3 separate regions of the Homo sapiens genome follow, and all the other regions are linked to region 2. Evidence: promoter capture Hi-C in 16 types of primary human blood cells and fetal thymus (Javierre and others, 2016). All regions are on one chromosome and are shown on one strand. The core of a region is centred on a gene start or on the middle of the fragment in contact, and the rest is flanking DNA. Distances in the headings are between cores, read along the strand shown. Region 1 holds the start of CWC15 (CWC15 spliceosome associated protein). Region 2 holds the start of DCUN1D5 (defective in cullin neddylation 1 domain containing 5). Region 3 holds the start of NPAT (nuclear protein, coactivator of histone transcription).

What was found. The method cuts DNA at HindIII sites, captures the fragments that hold promoters and counts their contacts. A CHiCAGO score of 5 or more calls a contact.
Region 1: the fragment with the promoter of CWC15 here is called in contact with the fragment with the promoter of DCUN1D5 in region 2 in 1 of 17 cell types (total B cells); the score reaches 7.8 in total B cells.
Region 3: a fragment that was not itself captured here is called in contact with the fragment with the promoter of DCUN1D5 in region 2 in 1 of 17 cell types (fetal thymus); the score reaches 10.4 in fetal thymus.

Annotation. Positions count from the first base shown.
Region 1 is chr11:94,972,247-94,974,950 of GRCh38, forward strand. CWC15 (CWC15 spliceosome associated protein) reads right to left here and starts at 1,310. Exons shown (of 7, transcript NM_016403.4): 1 at 1,252-1,310. It overlaps KDM4D (lysine demethylase 4D), which reads left to right and starts at 1,463. Exons shown (of 3, transcript NM_018039.3): 1 at 1,463-1,822. RefSeq lists enhancers at 587-1,362, 1,077-1,246, 1,567-1,716. The HindIII fragment of the contact is 9,854 bases long and covers 1-2,704 here.
Region 2 is chr11:103,090,633-103,093,675 of GRCh38, forward strand. It overlaps DCUN1D5 (defective in cullin neddylation 1 domain containing 5), which reads right to left and starts at 1,528. Exons shown (of 8, transcript NM_032299.4): 1 at 1,155-1,528. The coding sequence starts at 1,240. RefSeq lists enhancers at 648-1,265, 1,266-1,883, 1,813-1,862, 1,933-1,982 and a silencer at 828-1,122. The HindIII fragment of the contact is 604 bases long and covers 1,128-1,731 here.
Region 3 is chr11:108,219,904-108,222,859 of GRCh38, forward strand. It overlaps NPAT (nuclear protein, coactivator of histone transcription), which reads right to left and starts at 2,735. Exons shown (of 18, transcript NM_002519.3): 1 at 2,597-2,735. The coding sequence starts at 2,633. RefSeq lists an enhancer at 2,631-2,690. The HindIII fragment of the contact is 1,593 bases long and covers 911-2,503 here.

The DNA.
Region 1 (2,704 bases), core at 60-2,559, 8.1 Mb before region 2:
TAGAGTATTAATCAATATCCATACTGGTAAAATAAGTTCTAAAACTCATTCCCCAAAACCTGCTTAATCTTCTTAAACAAAAGTTTTCAAGAAAACAAATTATGAGGCTTAGGCTGTACAAGGAATATGGCTTCTCAGGCTTGCCTTAGTACAAAAAATTCTGTCATGAAGATCTGAGTTTGCATCCCTATTCTCCTTCTGACTATATGGGCTTGAGCAAGTCACCTGGCTTAACTTTGTCATCTGTGGAATGGAGATATTCCTCATAGATTATAAGAATTATGACACTTGACATGTCAAAACCCTAGTAAAATACAGTACTGCCATGACTGAGTTTTAAAAATTTCCAACTCAACCTTACTCTACCAGACTCTGTAAGGTTTGCATTTTATCTAAACTTCACACAATAGCAAATAGGCTAGTAGAAACAAAAGCTAAAAACAAACAAAAAATATCACTGACAAAGTTACTAAATGTCCCAGAGAAAAGTGTGTTAAACTTCAATGACAGTTACACAGAAAAAAATTCTTAAACAACCGTTTGTTGAGCCAATTTTCTCCTACAACAGGCATCATACTATAAATTAGATCGTTTGTGGGTTATAATTTAAGGCCTGTTCAAAAAAAACAGGAACCTCACCCCCAGAGGATTCTGATGCCAAAAATCAGGGACTCATTCCTCAAGTTACTTTCTGCTTGGAGCAGTCACAAGAATACTGTGCAGCAGATGCAGTCACTAAAACCCTGTTAGTGTCGGAAAAGCAAGTGTGTGGGGAGGGTGGGCGAATTGGGAGGATTTTTTGGGGGGGGGGCGATGCTAATTCTCTCAACTTTCAAAAAGGGTAGAGACATGTATACAAAGAAGAAAACAGGGTTATCTGGCGCTGGGGGCGCCGCCCCTTCCCACACACCCACGGAATTATCACTCCGGCCTCCCGTGAGCTAGTCTTTGGCTATAACCAGAAACTCGCTGCCTCTTCACCCGTGCCCAGCACTGCAGGGGTGCGAAGGGTAGTGAAGGGAGGACCTGGGGTTCGCTTTACGCAGTAGGCGAGCTGCCTGTACGCTGCGATCTCCTCGGCGGGCCCAAGAGCTCCAGACGCGCCTGACAGGCACTCGGTTCCGCCCCTAGCCCGCTGCTCCAGGGCCTCCACCGCCCGCGCTCTGCACTCTGCCGCCGACTCCGACCCCAACTGCCCTTTCCCGTCCCATCGCGATAAGAAAGATAATCTCCTATCCTCTTGCCGCTCACACTGGCCGAGGTCCGATGCAGCAGGCTCCGAAGATCATACAGACGCCATTACCACTCTTGGCTCCCAGAAACCTCTGCGCCCAGAGCTAGCGCCTACGACCCGGAAGCAAAATCCAAGCGCTTCGGGGGCGGAAGCAACGACCAATCCGCAGTGGCCGAAGTGGAAGTCGGCGTAACGGCACTAAGGGGCGGGGCCGAAGCGGCCCAGGGGGCGGGCGTTTGAAATCAGTGCCTTAGAGTAGACCCTAAACCTCATTTTATACCTTCAAGAACCAATTACTTAATGTCTCTTCCGTCTTTTCCGTCCCCGACCCCCTCCCAGACTCCTTCATTCCGGTACTGCGTGGACGGAAAGCCCCGGGTAGCCGACACCACGTCCCCGGCTAGCGGGAGAGAGCGTGGAAAAGGATTACACCAAACTGTTTAAATCCAACGACTCCTGCTTCCATCCTTTCTCCTGAGCTAGAACCAACAAACCTAGAGAGTTGGGCTTCGGAAAAACTAGTGTTTTCATTTAATTGGATATGAAGAAAGAACAAATATGTACGGGGCAACCACGATCTTTACAAAGGTACCATTCCTGCAAAAATATTAACACTTCAAAGCAAAGGTTGTATTCGTAATGTTTGCTAAAATTTCTTATTTAAAAAACGTTAGTTTTAGTGGGAGGGGAGATGTCAGTATTTACGAGAGCGTTTACAATGGTGGGCCCAACTACCAGGAGCACAAGATGTAATTATTAAGATGGCTACTTAAGTGTTAAGTTTTAATAAGACAACGAAAAGTAGAAAACCCGAAAACCAAAAACCTACCAGTCGTCTCTCCTCCCTTCCATAAAAACAAATTCTGAGAATAGAGATCTTGGTTGTTTAGCTCATCTTGGTATCTCATCACATAGACCTTGACGTATAGTAGCTGCTCAATTAATATTTGTTAAACAAATGAAAATTCAACTTCCCCAACTTAGTTTAAAATGTAAGGAACTCACAAAATTGAATATTTAAATGCTTTCTTACCCCTAAATTCTTTGCAACTTTTTAATGAAGAAAGAAAAGCAGAAAAAGCCCTTTCAGTCATAGAGTTCAAGATGAAAATCCTGATTTTTCTTACCGAAGGTATCCCTCCTCCAGTCTTAACAAGTCTCACTAAAAGACGCGATCATCATGCTAGTTACTCAAACCAAAATCCCGGAGTGCCTACTTAAATTCCTTTTCATTCACTCTTCACATACGGTTCATTTACAGGTCTTAACAATTCTACTTTTAAAACTCACCCGCAATTTTATTCTACTGCCACTACCCTTGCCTTTGCCAACACCATCTCCTACCTGGATTGTAATTGCTTCCTATTATATCTTCCTGCGTCATCTTTTATCCTACAGTCAGTGTTGCATATAGCCAAGAGAGTGATCTTTTAAAATTAATAAAATGGTGTTACTATCCTGTGTACAATT
Region 2 (3,043 bases), core at 278-2,777:
TCGGGCGAGGTGGCTCACTCCTGTAATCCCAGCACTTTGGGAGGCCGAGGCGGGCGGATCGCGAGGTCAGGAGTTCAAGACCAGCCTAGTCAACATAGTGAAACCCCGTCTCTACTAAAAATACAAAAAATTAGCAGGGCGTGGTGGCGGGCGCCTATAATCCCAGCTACTCAGGAGGCTGAGGCAGGAGAATCGCTTGAACCCGGGAGGCGGAGGTTGCAGTAAGCGGAGATCGCGCCACTGCACTCCAGCCTGGACAACAGTGGAAGACTCCGTCTCAGAAAAACAAAACAAAACAAAAAAACAAAAAAACCATTTCTCAAACCAAAATTGCAGTTTTTTTGTAGCATAAATTTTGCTGTGATGCCTCCATGATATGCTACAAGGGGATCAAAGAGCTACTACTATATAGTTCTGCCTTGTCTTCTTTCTTACCAGTAGGACAGAGTACAAGAGCTCACAAATTATTTAATTTATGCTGAGAGCTAACAGCGTCCTGAATGCTAGAAGACAAAAAGCATGCAGGGCCTTTCCAACTCTGCACACAGGGACTTGGCATAGGTGAGGCACTATACTTCCAGAAAATGGGGCTCCTGCAATTTAAAAGGCCTCCTGCTGGGACCTTCCGGGTTAGGCCACTCCAAATACTAAATATGGAGGCCAATTATAGCATACAAGTTTTCCTTTCTACCATTCCCAAGACAGTTGTCAAGATTCCTTATGTTCTGCTTTCTTCACACTCTACAAAGAAATTCTAGAAGTGACCCTTCTGCGGATATGTACTCACTTCTAAGTCTAGAAAAAGGCAGAGGAGCGATACGGGAGTAGGGGATCGAGGGTCGGTTGTGGGGTGGGGGTGGGGGTGGGGGGAAGCGCAATTTACATATGCATCTGTTCCCCACCCTGCAGGGCACGTAGACTCTTAACGTGGGCGGCTCTTCTAGTCTCTCCATAAACGCCAGCGTGCACACACTCGAACACGAGGTCGGGTCGGGCGCGGAGACTCGCGGTGTTCGGCACCTACAGCCTAGCTCGATCAAAGGGGCCTCACCTGTCTCCAGCCCCAGCCCGGCAGGCCGGGCCCGACTCCTTTTCCTCCAGTTGTCCAGCAAAGGAGGGAGGAGGGAAGCTTGAAGGGTGGGGGGAGATGGTACCTGGAGATTTTACACTTTTTGAGGCCTCCGTCTTCCGCTACTGCTGCTGCCACCCCAGGGGATTTTCTCTTCTTCTTCACCGGCATCTTCCGCCCTCCCCGGCAGGGTGGGCAGGGGAGCCGGGGAAGGGGGTCCCTGTCCGCTGGAAGCCCCTCAGCGCTGGCACCCAGTTCCCAGAGACAGCAGCAAGCGGAGGAGCAGAGTCGCCAGCCCGCACCGGCGCGGCCCAGCCCGGCCGCCGCCCGCTCCCAGGTATCCTCGTCGTCTTTCTCTGACCGGGACAGGGCTGGCTCCTCGCCGGTGGACACTGCGGTTCGTTCTCACCGGGAGGAGATAACGCGGACAGCGCGGCAGCTCCACCAGTCACAGCAAGCAAGAGGCTCAGCCTAACCCGGAGGCGAATCGCTGAGGCCCGGAAGTGACGCAATCGCGGAGCCGGTCCCGGGAAGGGGCGTGGTTCCGGTTAGCCTCTGCCACTCGTAGGTAGGCCAGGCAGAGCGAAGCTGTCTGACCCGTCGACTGCGGCAGTCCGCGGAATTCTTGTATCCTGTCCAGGGTATCCTGACCTTTCTCATGAAGCTTCTACCGCGCTCTGATGCTGGCAGTCACCGCCAAAAAGTGAAACTACTAATACTTTGCAGTTGACGTTAAAAACAACCTGGTAAAGTAGACCAAGTTCCACTTCTGAGCTCTTCCACACGATAACCTCACCTGAAGTGTTCCCACCCCGTAAATGCATTGTCACCCTGTGTCTTGCGTGTTTTTTTTATGGGCCTGTGATCAGCCACCCACTCCCCCTTCTCCCTACCTTTGCATATCACTTTGTCCTGTATTGAAACTTAGCTCTGCCATTATTTCCACAGAGCTCACCTCTCCGATAAGAGACAGTAGGTGACTGCGACTCAGTAGAGAGAAATTTGGGGGACAGTTCTAAGGAACCTCCCCCTAGACCCAAAACACACTGTAATCTATTCATCTCCACTTAGGTGGAAATACTGTTTTTAAATAATGGTTATTGTATGTAAAGACATAGTAGAAAGTCGTTAGTAATTCTGTTGGTAAAATAATCTCTGCAAACCAACTGTGATGGGAGAAGACTAAAAGTCTTTGAGTAATAGTTGAAGTGGTTCCTGTGAAACTACCCTCACAATGGCACCCTAATCTGGTCAATCCGAATATCATATTTCCTTAGTGTTATTAATTGGTTCAGGATGGACACATACTCAGGCCAGGCCAATGAGTGCCAATGACACAAAATTGAACCACCAGAAAGCAATTTTATTTCCTATGGATTTGAACCAGAGAAGGTATGGAGAATGAAGCCAAAACTCAGAAGAGACTAGTATCAAGCAGAAAAATAGAAAAACCAGGATGTGATTATATGATATGAGCCCAAAATCCATGATATGCCCTGGAATTTTCACTTATGTGAAGCAACAAATTTCACTATTTTGCATATTTAGTTCAATTCTCTGTTACTTAAAACCAAAAGAATGTCAAAGTATATGATCCTTCAACCCATTTAAAAATGCCTGAGGCCAAAATCAAAACAGAATCAGATAAAGTCTCTAAATAGAACTACCATCTACAAAAAGTACAGGACAGAGGAACATGTTAAATACCCAATGCAATCAGCAATATCTAGACGTCAGAAAAGTCTACAGGACAATGACCCAAATTCTGCAACAAATTATTAGGACGAGAGGAGAGAGAAGGAAATTAAAAGACTTAAAGGATATGTCAATCATTTTCAGTATGCAGTTCTTATTTGAATTTGACTCACACAAACAGTTTAAACAATATGATAACATCTCTGTGGCAATTGGAGATGTTAATGCTGGCTGGATATTTGATGAAATTCTAGAACATGTAAAACTTACTTATAGCAA
Region 3 (2,956 bases), core at 457-2,956, 5.1 Mb after region 2:
GAAGTACTGACTGTACTTGCTGAATGAAGTTTCAGAGATCAGGCATGACCTGAACCTTGAATAGAAGTGTACTAGGAAGACAAAGAGAAGTAGAATACATACAAGAATTTTCAAAGAAACTTCAATTCGTTTGGCATGTCTGCAGCATAAAACAGATGTTAGGAAGTTGAGATCAAGTTGGAGAGGTAGGTAGGATCAGTTCCACAGAGCACCTTGAATAAATAGATAAAAACTGAACTGATGGCCCAGAGGCAACAAACACTTTGATGTATTCTGGCCCACACAACATTTTGTAAAATCCCAGCAAGGCAATAAGGGCTACTTAAGTGGAGTAGTGAGATGCAAAAGTCAGAGTGCAGTATCCTGAAGGATAAAAGGTAGGTGAAGAACAGCAACTAAGTGGAATTCATTGTTCTTTGAATAAATTTGACTTGTGAAAGGGTGACACAGAACATAAGACAGAATGTTCTGTTTAATGGGTGTCTAATGTCTAGTGGGGTCCAGAAAAGTGTTTTTTTGTGTGTATGTTTAAGAATTTAAAAAAAACCTAATTATCTGAACACTAAGGGGAGAAAACTTAACTTCTCTATGTTCAGCAATTGGCACAGTGTTTGGAACATACTAGGCACCCAAAGATTTGCTAGAAAAAAAACATTATGAAGGGACCAATAACAAGAGGAGCTGAAGATGGCGAGGGGGTACTGATAGGAAAAGAATCATGAGTAAATAATAAACCTCATATGAGAAAGATATACACGATATGTATCTATTTAAGATGTAAAATGATAAACGACAAAAGTAAGAGCATTAGGCATGGGGAGGCTTTTTTGTATTGTATACTCCTGCCCATCTGAAATTTTTAGTAAGAATAGAATTATCTCAACTTTCAGACTAAAAGGTATAGTGTGAAAGCTTCAGGGAGATTTGTAACAACAGTAAATAAAATGAATTGCGAGGACAACTGTCTGGGAAGCCATGACAGAAGTCCAAAAGAGAAGTAATGGCAGGCACATTGCGGGATTGGTGGCAGTGAAAATGGAATGTGAATGACAAAGATTTTTAAGATAAGAAAACCATGGCTGGCGTTTTTTGTCCATTAAATGAAAAGCAGGAAGTCAGCAGAGTAGCTGGTTTGTGGAGAAAGAATACTCACACATCGATGTGAATTATTTCAATTAGAAAATGATACTGCTTTCTTAGGGCTTTCTTAACTAGGGGTGATTCTGCCCTCCAGGGGACATACTAGCAATATCTAGAGACATTTTCACTGATCACAACTGGGTAAGGGTAGGGTGGGGAACGGGTGTCCTACTGTAATCTAGTGAATAGAAGCCAGGAATGCTGCTAAACATCCTACAATGTTTGAGCACAGGATAGCTCCCCACAATAAAGAATTATGAGGCCCAAAATGTTAACAGTACTGAGGCTGAGAAACCATGTTTAAGACTATAGTTACCGAAACTCAACTAGATTACCAAACTGCCAAAACTCAGAATTCTTAAGCAAAAGATTAATCAGACATTAACAAAACATTAAACTTGTCATTAAGTTTCTTCAAAAATGGATGGTGGAACCATTTCCGTTTAACGTTTCCTGCAAAATGTGCTTATCAAGAGCCCTGCGCAAATAACATTTTTGTGGACAGCGCTGGGCATTTAAAAGAGGCACAAGACAAATGGGTTTTCCGAACAATAAAATAATAGTAGTAATGGCTGTGAATACTATGGGAGGTTTCATCACAGATGCTTGCCATTTACTTTTAGGGACGTCGCATACGACGTCCGTAAATTACTGGCTCGGGTTTTGAGCTTTACCTGGCTCTCGTCCCCTGTAGTACAATCCTCTTTATTCTTTCAGGGGACAAACAACAACAAAACCCGTCTCTCACACAGACAATACACCCTGACAGACAAGTGACCCACAAACAATCCCTCCTCAAATGAAGGTAAAACTAGGGCTAGAAAACGTTCAACTAATTTAAGGCAATTAACCCTCTGAAATTTTTCGCTGATCAAAGGAACAGGAATTGCTGTTTTAAAATATGCAACTGGCATTTCACACCTCTACACTGGACGACGTATTGCGTGGAGGATGGAGAAGGAAGATCACCCCTACTCCCAAATTCGTAGTTATAAGGGCGGGTTATTAGAAGGGCGCCAGGAAGGTCTCTCTACAAAGATGGGGGGCCGGGGAACTCCCTATTTGCCCTATTTTGGTCCCAACACTGAACCAAGGAAATTGCGCCCAAGGTTGAAGCACACGCAATCCGTCCGTCATGCAGACAAATGCTCTTTCAGGGGTCCTAATTAAGTGTGGAGGCCTGACTTTCCTTCCGAATCCGCCCCAGGTGTTCCACCCCGAGCTTCCCCTCGGGCTTCCCCTCGCCACGCAGCCTCTGAAGAGAGGAGCATCTACATACAAAGAGGCTTAAACTGCCCAGAACCTCCGAATGACGAAGAATCACCGCCAGTCTCAACTCGTAAGCTGGGAGGCAAAACCCCAAAGCTTCCCTACCAAGGGAAAACCTTTGGCCTCAAAGGTCCTTCTGTCCAGCATAGCCGGGTCCAATAACCCTCCATCCCGCGTCCGCGCTTACCCAATACAAGCCGGGCTACGTCCGAGGGTAACAACATGATCAAAACCACAGCAGGAACCACAATAAGGAACAAGACTCAGGTTAAAGCAAACACAGCGACAGCTCCTGCGCCGCATCTCCTGGTTCCAGTGGCGGCACTGAACTCGCGGCAATTTGTCCCGCCTCTTTCGCTTCACGGCAGCCAATCGCTTCCGCCAGAGAAAGAAAGGCGCCGAAATGAAACCCGCCTCCGTTCGCCTTCGGAACTGTCGTCACTTCCGTCCTCAGACTTGGAGGGGCGGGGATGAGGAGGGCGGGGAGGACGACGAGGGCGAAGAGGGTGGGTGAGAGCCCCGGAGCCCGAGCCGAAGGGCGAGCCGC